Regions from separate parts of the Homo sapiens genome. Here all the other regions are linked to region 1. The links are contacts of gene promoters, found by promoter capture Hi-C in human tissues and cell types (Jung and others, 2019). All regions are on one chromosome and are shown on one strand. The core of a region is centred on a gene start or on the middle of the fragment in contact, and the rest is flanking DNA. Distances in the headings are between cores, read along the strand shown.

Region 1 (2,566 bases), core at 38-2,537:
GCCGGCCGCGCCGGCCCCCAGCCCGCCCCGGGAGCGCCTCTCCCGGTCTCGCTGCGACCGCGACCGCCGCTTTTTGCGGAGTCCATGGCCCCGCGTCGGGCCATCCATGGTTCTGCTGCGCCGGGGTCTCCCCGCTTGCCCGCCACAGGCTACGGCCGCAGCCACACAAAAAAAAATTGACACCGAGCCCTCCCTCCCCCTTCACGGCTTCCCTCCGCCCCGAGGAGGGCGCGGGGGAGACGGCGGCCGAAAGAAGGGAGAGAGGGGAAGAAAGAGAGGAGAAAGAAAAGGGGGAAGGGGCGGAGAGAGGGGAGGAGGGACGGGGAGCGAGGGCGAGAGGCGAGGAGCCCAAGTGTGGGGCTCCCCACAGCACCGAGGGTCGGAGATGCCTGGGAGCAGCGCCGAGCAAAGTAATGGCTGAACACACAGGTCTCCTTTAGAGGAAAAAAAAATAACTCACCAAGCAAGCAATAAATCAGAATAGCGGAATGCTTTGATCAAGAGACTGGGAGGCTCCGGGGAGCCCTCCCCGCGGCCATTCTCCGCCGCGCCCCCCGCCCCCCGAAAACGCCCGCGCCCCCCTCAACTCGATCCAAAATCGGGTCCGAAAAAGGTCGCGGGAAAAGTGGGGGCAATGAACTTCACCCGCCCCTCGCGCAGGAAAACACCCCCGCCGCCTCTCACACACGCCTCGGAGAAAACTCACTCCCAGGCTCCCAAATTTTTAAGAAATGCAGCCAGGGGAGGCCGGGGCTCCGGAGCGACCCAAGAGGGGCGAGACCCCCCAGAGAGGGGAGCATAATAATGCAATCATTAGCGGAAGAGAGGGCGAAACTGCGAGCGGCGGAGGAGAAGGGAGGCGGAGGAAGGGAAGGAGGATGCTGCTGGAGCAGTTGTGGGGTTTGCTTTTCGGTCTTCGAGGGGGGAGGAGAGGGAGATGAAAGAAGAGAAGAAGCAAACCCTGTCGCTGCCACCCGCCCCCCTCCTCACAAAAATATTTTTTCCAGTCCCAGAGAAGAGGTCACCCTTCCTCAAAAAAGGGAGGGGGTGAGTCAGTCAGTCGATGAGGAAAGCAGAAAGAAATCTCCAGCGGGAGAGACACCGGTGTGCCGCCGCCGCCGCCGCCGCTTCTCTCGCCGCCCCGCCTGAGGGAGAAGCGCAGCCGGGAACGCTGCTCTCGCCGCCGCCGCTAACGCTGCTGCTGCTGCCGCCGCCGCCGCCGAGAAAGCCCCGAGCCGGAGGGTGCACGGCGTGTCCCCGGGCGGCTGCAGCGGGAGCCCGGGCACTGCCCCATCCTCCGCCCGCCCGCCTGCCTCGCGCAGCTCCCGCTCCTCCCCCTCCGCGGCCAGCCCACCGCCGCCGCCGCCGCCGCCGCCCGCCTCAGCCCAACCCCGCGCCCGCCCGCTCGCTCGCTCGCTCGCTCGCTCGTTCGTGCTTTCGCTCGCTCGCTCGAGTGCGCGCGCTCCCGCGCACCCGCCCTCCCCGCGCCTCTCTCGGCGCGCGCTCCCGCCCCCGCGGCCCCGGCCGGCGGGATCACGTGGACGGCTGGGCTCCCTCCTCCCCCGCCCCCTCCCCAGTTGTAGAGTGTGTAGAAAGCAAAAGGCTGGGGGCTGGCCGCGCTCGCGAGCCCAGGGCATGCGCGCTGGGGCGGCCGGGCCTGCGCACTGGGGGCGGTGGGGAGCTGTGAGGGGGGCGGGGGCGGGGGCGTGGAGGGGGCGCCCGCGTGGGGTCGGCCGCGGCCGGGCAGAGTTGGCGCGCCAGGGCGTGGAAGCCGCCGGAGGATCCCGCCTGTCGCAGCGGGGACGCGTGTGGGCCCCTGCTCCCAGGCCACTTCGCGCGCGCGCCCCCCACATCCTCCTCGGGACACTTGTCCCTGGATCCTCTACCCCTGGCCGGCCCGAGGCCGCCTTCTCGGGAAGCCCCACCAGCCCCCAAGGGTGTTTTCCCTTGGCTACCTGCGCTGCGAGGAGAGAAGGGAATTCAGAGAAGGGGTACAAGGGGGGCGTCCCTGGGAGGGGGCGCGACTGGAGGAGACAGAACGGGGAGCGGGTGCCAAAGCGCGGGCCTTTGCTCCGCCTGGGCGCAGTGGGAGCACCAACTGGCAGAGTTGGAAACTTTTCCTCCACGTGGCACCACAGTGCGTGGACGAGCGACCCCGCGCCCGGATGACCCCTGGGATTCCCGCCTCGTCTTCCAGCGGGGGACCTAGGGACGCACGGGCGGCTTCAGATCCGGGAGCGCGAGGCCTAACAGCCGGGGGCCGAACTTGAACCTCGGAGGCGGCCGCGGGCGAGGGGCGGGGCCGAAGGGGCCGGGACCGCCGCCCCAGCTCGAGGACCCGTTAGACCGGCAAACCGCAGTCCCTGCCCCGCGGGCTTCCTTTACTTTTTGGGAGTGGGGGGCGGTTTCCCTGCTTTTTCCACCACAGCCCCTCCTCCCGCCGCAATGTGGCTGATGCTCATAAAAAGTTGTATTAAAGAGCTGACTGCAGCCGAGAATCGATCAACAAAAGCGACCAGCCTCTCTGGGTAAAATAGCTGTGCGTTTTTCAGGGCACTGGAATTGA
Region 2 (2,566 bases), core at 33-2,532, 460 kb before region 1:
GGAGGCAGAGGTTCCAGTGACCTGAGATCACGCCATTGCAGTCCAGCCTGGGCAACAAGAGTGAAACTCCGTCTCCGGGGGAGCAAAAAAAAAAAAAAGAAGAAATAACCCTTAAATTCCACCCACAAGCCTGCCCCAAGTTAAGTTCACCAAATAAATAGTTAATCCATTGTGAAGTTTCTTTTGCCAAACCATGATATTAAAAGTTATTAAGTATCTCATGTCTATATAGTACTTAGCAGAGTACTACCATAAGTATCTTTTATTATTTATGTTACAGTAACATTTTTTCAACCTATTATTATTAGGAAAGCTACCAACAGTCAAGGGATAATGCCATTTGGAAACATAATGACCTATTTGCTTTATTTATTGTGGTCATGTTGCCCCATTCTCTTCCTCTCTCTTAAAATTTTAATAGGAAGCTTTAATTAACTTAATATTTTAATACAAACCTAGCACCTCTTATTCCCTCCTTGAGAGGAAAATTAAAATACTAACCTGTTAAAACTTAAGGAAAGAAAACACCAGAATCAGGAATGCGGCTGTTTTCCTCTTGGGGACTGAGGAACTACCATTTACTGAGCACCTTCCATGTATGCCAGGCAGGCTACTAGGGACTTCACAGACATGATTTCACTTTGCATCACACCATTTCCAGAAAGTACTGTCTCCATTTCGCACATAAACAAGAATCTATTATTTCCAATATCAAACTCCTCTCAACACGAACCAGAATGAACCCTTGAGAGGTCACCTAGTTTGACCATCTGTCTCTAATTAAGTGCTAGAGCCAGATAAAATTCAGAAAGAACCTACAGATTTATCCCAGTCCTCATTTTACCGCTGAAAATAAATAAGGCATAGAGATACCAAGAGACAGGCCTAGGGTCACAGGGTTTGTTAAGAGAACTCCAGAGAAACAGAAAAAGCTGGTTTCCTGCCATTCCTGTTCTGCTTCCTTCACTGGACCAGGCAGGCTCCACCTGGATGCAGGAAGGAAGAAATACCTACCTCAGTCAGGGAGGCTGGGGAATGCAGCAGAGGGAGCAGAGAGGTGGGTGCTGCCTTAGCCCCACCGCTGCCTTCTGGGAGACAAACAACATACCTGCATGGCCTAGCACGATTTAAAGAGGTCAGAGTATAGAGTCAAAGACACCTTCCATGCCGGAAGTTTTGCAATGCTACTTCTTAAACCATTCTTTTCTGCTCATCTATATAGTAAGATATTGTAATATTATACTTCCTAGGGTTGACATAAAAGATTACATAAGCTGTATCTGTAAAATGTGCATTACAAAGTAAGTGTTGAATTAACAGTAACTGTTAGTACAATTTCTCACCTCTTTTCTGCAGTAAGTCTTAACATCCCCCTCCCTTGATCAGTGGTTTAGATTAGTCTTTCTCGCTTACAACACAGATTGCCAGCCCCGCCCACAGGACTTCTGGGGTAGAGTCTAACAATCTGCATTTCTAATAAATTCCCAAGTAAAGCTGAGGCTGCTATACTTTTGCTTTGACAGCTTTCTCCTCTATTTTAAAATCTCCCCATTCTGAGAAGCACAGCTTCCTGTTCACTTAGTTGCCCTTATACAATGTTCTTCTCTTTATCTAGCATTTCTTTAAGTGAAATTTAAAGCTGTTCAGCTCAAATGAAAGAGATGAAGCATACCAAAGAAAGAGTGTACAAAAACTTTTTAAAAAATTTAACCCTTTGTTCAATGTTATTAAAACCTATGGTCCCTAAATGTCAAAAAGGATGGTTTTATGCTGTGTAGAATTTTACTTTTATATAGGAAATGACCTTGAATATCAGAACAGAAGACACTGTACTGAAATGCTTTTCTTTCTCATTATAAGAAAATCTAATTAACTTGCACCACCTGTAGAAAAAATTTAGTCTAAAGTGGTGAACAATTAAACTGTAAAAAGTACTGTTTAATAAATGTCAACTTGTTAATTTTAAGTCAATTATTTGGAACTAGGCAAGGTCAAGCAGCTATTTGGAACTAAGCGAGCTTGACTAGCTGCTTAAATAAATGAGTGACATTACTTATCACTTCCTACCTCAAAAATCTGCCATGGGTTCCTATGGCCTCACTAAGGAAGCCTATCTTCTTTAGCCTAGCATCGAAGGCATCGAAAACATAACACCGTGTTCCTACATTTACCATGAACTCCAATCAAACAGAAAATCACATACTGTGCCAGCCACAGTACGATGTACCTCCTCCAATCTATGTGTCCAAATCAGCGCATCCTTTAAGGCCCTACTCAGATGGCACCTCTTTCATACAGAATTTCCAGATCCTCGATTCTCATATGACTCTTGCAATAGCTCTGTAATATTGATAAATCTGAAATTTAAAAAAAGTAACCAATGTGAATGTTAAGATCTCCACACAGAAATCTGCGCATAAATGTTTACAGTAGCTTTTTCCCATAATTGACAAAACTTGGAAGCAACCAAGATTAGGTGAATGGAAAAATAAACTGTGGAACATCCAGGCAATGTACTACTCAGTGCTAAGAAGAAATGAGCTATTAAGCCATTAAAAGACACGGA
Region 3 (2,566 bases), core at 26-2,525, 310 kb before region 1:
CAAATGGCAGATCCTGAGTTAAATAAACCATATGGTCGAGAAAAGCCCCTATGAAAGATGACATTTCAGTTCAAGCCTAAAGGACTAGAAGGATCTCATCATTCAAAAAACAGAGGGGGAACCATTTCTTCCAAAGAGGATAGCATAAGGTGTCCAGGGTACGAAGGAACTTGGCATGTGGGAGGGAATGGAAGGTCGGGAGCTGGAGCCAGTAAGCAAGGGAAGCATGACATGAAGCTGAAGAAACAGCACTGGATAACTGGGCACTGCAGATGATGGGAGTCTGATTTTCAATCTGAATACCCTGAGAAGCAGTTGAGAGGATTTACTTGTGGGAATAATATGATCATATGTATATTTTTAAAAGATCACTCTGGCTAGCATATGGAGAAAAGACTGGAAAGAGACATGAATGGAAACTATAAATATGAGAAGGGTATCCTCGAGTAAAGGATAGCAGTGGTTTTAAGGGTGTTGTTTCCCAATATGTGACATAAGCCTAGGCCCCTTGCTGTGTCACACAGTGAGGTCCTCGAGGAGCTCAACATTTCAGTGGAAAGAAGAAAATGTATACCTCCAACTCAAAACAGAGTATGGTATGAAAAAGGCCAAAAGTGAATTACAGAGTGACTATATATCCCAGTTTTTCAGGAAGTCCTGATTAATGCTTATTGTTCCAAGGTAATTATTAATGGTTCCCCCTTTCATTCCCAGTAATGTCCTAAATTAGCTGATAAATTCTGGGGTGACCCTTGTTATAAACAAAGGATCATAAGAGTTGGGAAGACAATGCAATTACTTACAAGGAAAAAGATCATAAAAACTTCAAGGAAGAAGTGGGTCTGAACTAGTCAATGGAAGACAAATATGTCAAAAAAGAATATTCTAAACAAAGAAAATAGCCAAAGCACAGGCACAGGAATGTGGAGAAAACACAGGGTTCATCCAAATAGCAGTTGTAGTTGCAGCTTGGTGTTTACAGAGAGTGGGAAAGGCAACTGGGAAGGTACATTGCAGCAGGATTAGTCAGGGCCTAAAATGTCCTATACTAAGAGGCTTCAATCTTATTTAGATGGCTGTGGATGGTCACTGAAATTTTTTAAACCAGAGTACAATAGCAATGAGCTAAATAATGCTGCACTAATCTAGAGATGATAAATCTAAAAGTTTACCGAAAAGAACCAGCACAGTAAAAGGAACAAGGAAACAGGAAGCAAAGGCATTTTGTGACTCTGAGAGCAGATCTAAGTGATGTCCCATGCAATCCTGGCTGGGTCAAGAAGCTAGCAAAAGACACTGGGTGGAAGGAGGGAGTAAAATGAAAGCCAAAGAGCTGAAGGTAGGCTCAAGGACAGAGATGAAAGGAGAAATATGGGTCTGCTCAGTTTGAAAGGGGGAAGAGAAGAGCAGGGGCAGAATGACCATGAAAACGGTTTTTAAACTCCATATTCTTTCCTTCTAATACTGTACTATGTCAATTTGTCTCCTTAGTCTATCTGGAGAACCATGGGGCAGCCCTAATATACTCCCTACATGGTCCCAGTGATGGCAGTGGCAGCCTGTCTGGAGCAGCCGCTGCCAAGATGCTGGCTGCAGCCGGGGCTGTATGCTCTGAGGAGCCGGCTGGGGCCAGGAACAGGCAGGAGCCCCACCCTCCACTGAGTTGGCAGAGAGGGAGATTCATGCTCCTGGGCACACATGCAGCTGCCCAGCTGTGGCTCCAGACCCAGGCATCCCTGAGCTCTCAGGCGCCTGGGGAAGTGCCCCTGCCCGAGCAGTCTTGGAAGTGCCTACTCTCGCTACCTGGCCTCTCCCCATACCTGGCTTCTCCCCATACCTGGAGCCCACTCTGATTTCAGAGGAAAATTGAGGCTAAGCCTGAGTGCTGTCACAACCTGGCCAGGCATGCATGCACTCGGGTGGCATTGACACGCCAGCCCCCTGCCACCTCAGCACCCCCTCCAGATTTTGGGCACCCATGAGCACAAGAGGGAGGCCAAGGTAGGACTGAAGGTGGCTCAGCGTGGGCCTACAGGTGTCCCTTGGCATCAACAGCCTGAGTGCCATGGATGGCACATTGATGGTGGGAGGCAGACAGGTTTCAGGGCAGAAAGGGACAGGTCCCCAGTGAAATTCCACCTTCAAGCCAGGGACAACCTGAAGCCTAGCGGCCAGGGTGCCAGTTCCCGGTGGAGTCTGCCGCCCAGAGTGAAGACTTCATTGATGACCATTTGGCCAATCGGATGGTGCTTTTTCCAGGCCTGCCCATGGACCAATCAACATGTACTTCTTCCCTTCTAAGCACATAAAAACCCGAGACTCAGCCAGGCTCAAACAGACATCGGACTACCAGCTGCAGAAAGGAGCTACCACTGCGGCTCGCCTCTCCACTGAGAGCTGGACACTCATAGGGATGACCTGCCTGTGGAAAGGAGTTACCCACTTGAGGTCTCCTGGGAGCTGTTCTGTGGATCAAATAAAGCTCCTCTCTGCCTTGCTCACACTCCAGTTGTCTGCTGTACCTCATTCTTCCTAGGCATGGGACATGAACTCGAGACCTGTTGAA

Evidence for each region. The method cuts DNA at HindIII sites, captures the fragments that hold promoters and counts their contacts. A contact is called where the count stands out against the background at its distance.
Region 2: a contact is called between a fragment that was not itself captured here and the fragment with the promoter of AUTS2 in region 1, in 1 of the 25 tissues and cell types used here (lymphoblastoid cells).
Region 3: a fragment that was not itself captured here is called in contact with the fragment with the promoter of AUTS2 in region 1 in 1 of the 25 tissues and cell types used here (dorsolateral prefrontal cortex).

What each region holds. Positions count from the first base shown.
Region 1 is chr7:69,597,196-69,599,761 of GRCh38, reverse strand. It overlaps AUTS2 (activator of transcription and developmental regulator AUTS2), which reads right to left and starts at 1,287. Exons shown (of 19, transcript NM_015570.4): 1 at 1-1,287. The coding sequence starts at 108. It overlaps CT66 (cancer/testis associated transcript 66), which reads left to right and starts at 2,138. Exons shown (of 3, transcript NR_148927.1): 1 at 2,138-2,566. RefSeq lists silencers at 1-43, 1,208-1,287, 1,308-1,727 and enhancers at 808-857, 2,038-2,117. The HindIII fragment of the contact is 7,960 bases long and covers 1-2,566 here.
Region 2 is chr7:70,059,314-70,061,879 of GRCh38, reverse strand. All of the region lies in intron 2 of AUTS2 (activator of transcription and developmental regulator AUTS2), which reads right to left. Among named protein-coding and RNA genes, the nearest start is that of AUTS2, 460 kb to the right of the region's middle. The HindIII fragment of the contact is 5,023 bases long and covers 1-2,566 here.
Region 3 is chr7:69,911,478-69,914,043 of GRCh38, reverse strand. All of the region lies in intron 2 of AUTS2 (activator of transcription and developmental regulator AUTS2), which reads right to left. Among named protein-coding and RNA genes, the nearest start is that of AUTS2, 310 kb to the right of the region's middle. The HindIII fragment of the contact is 4,625 bases long and covers 1-2,566 here.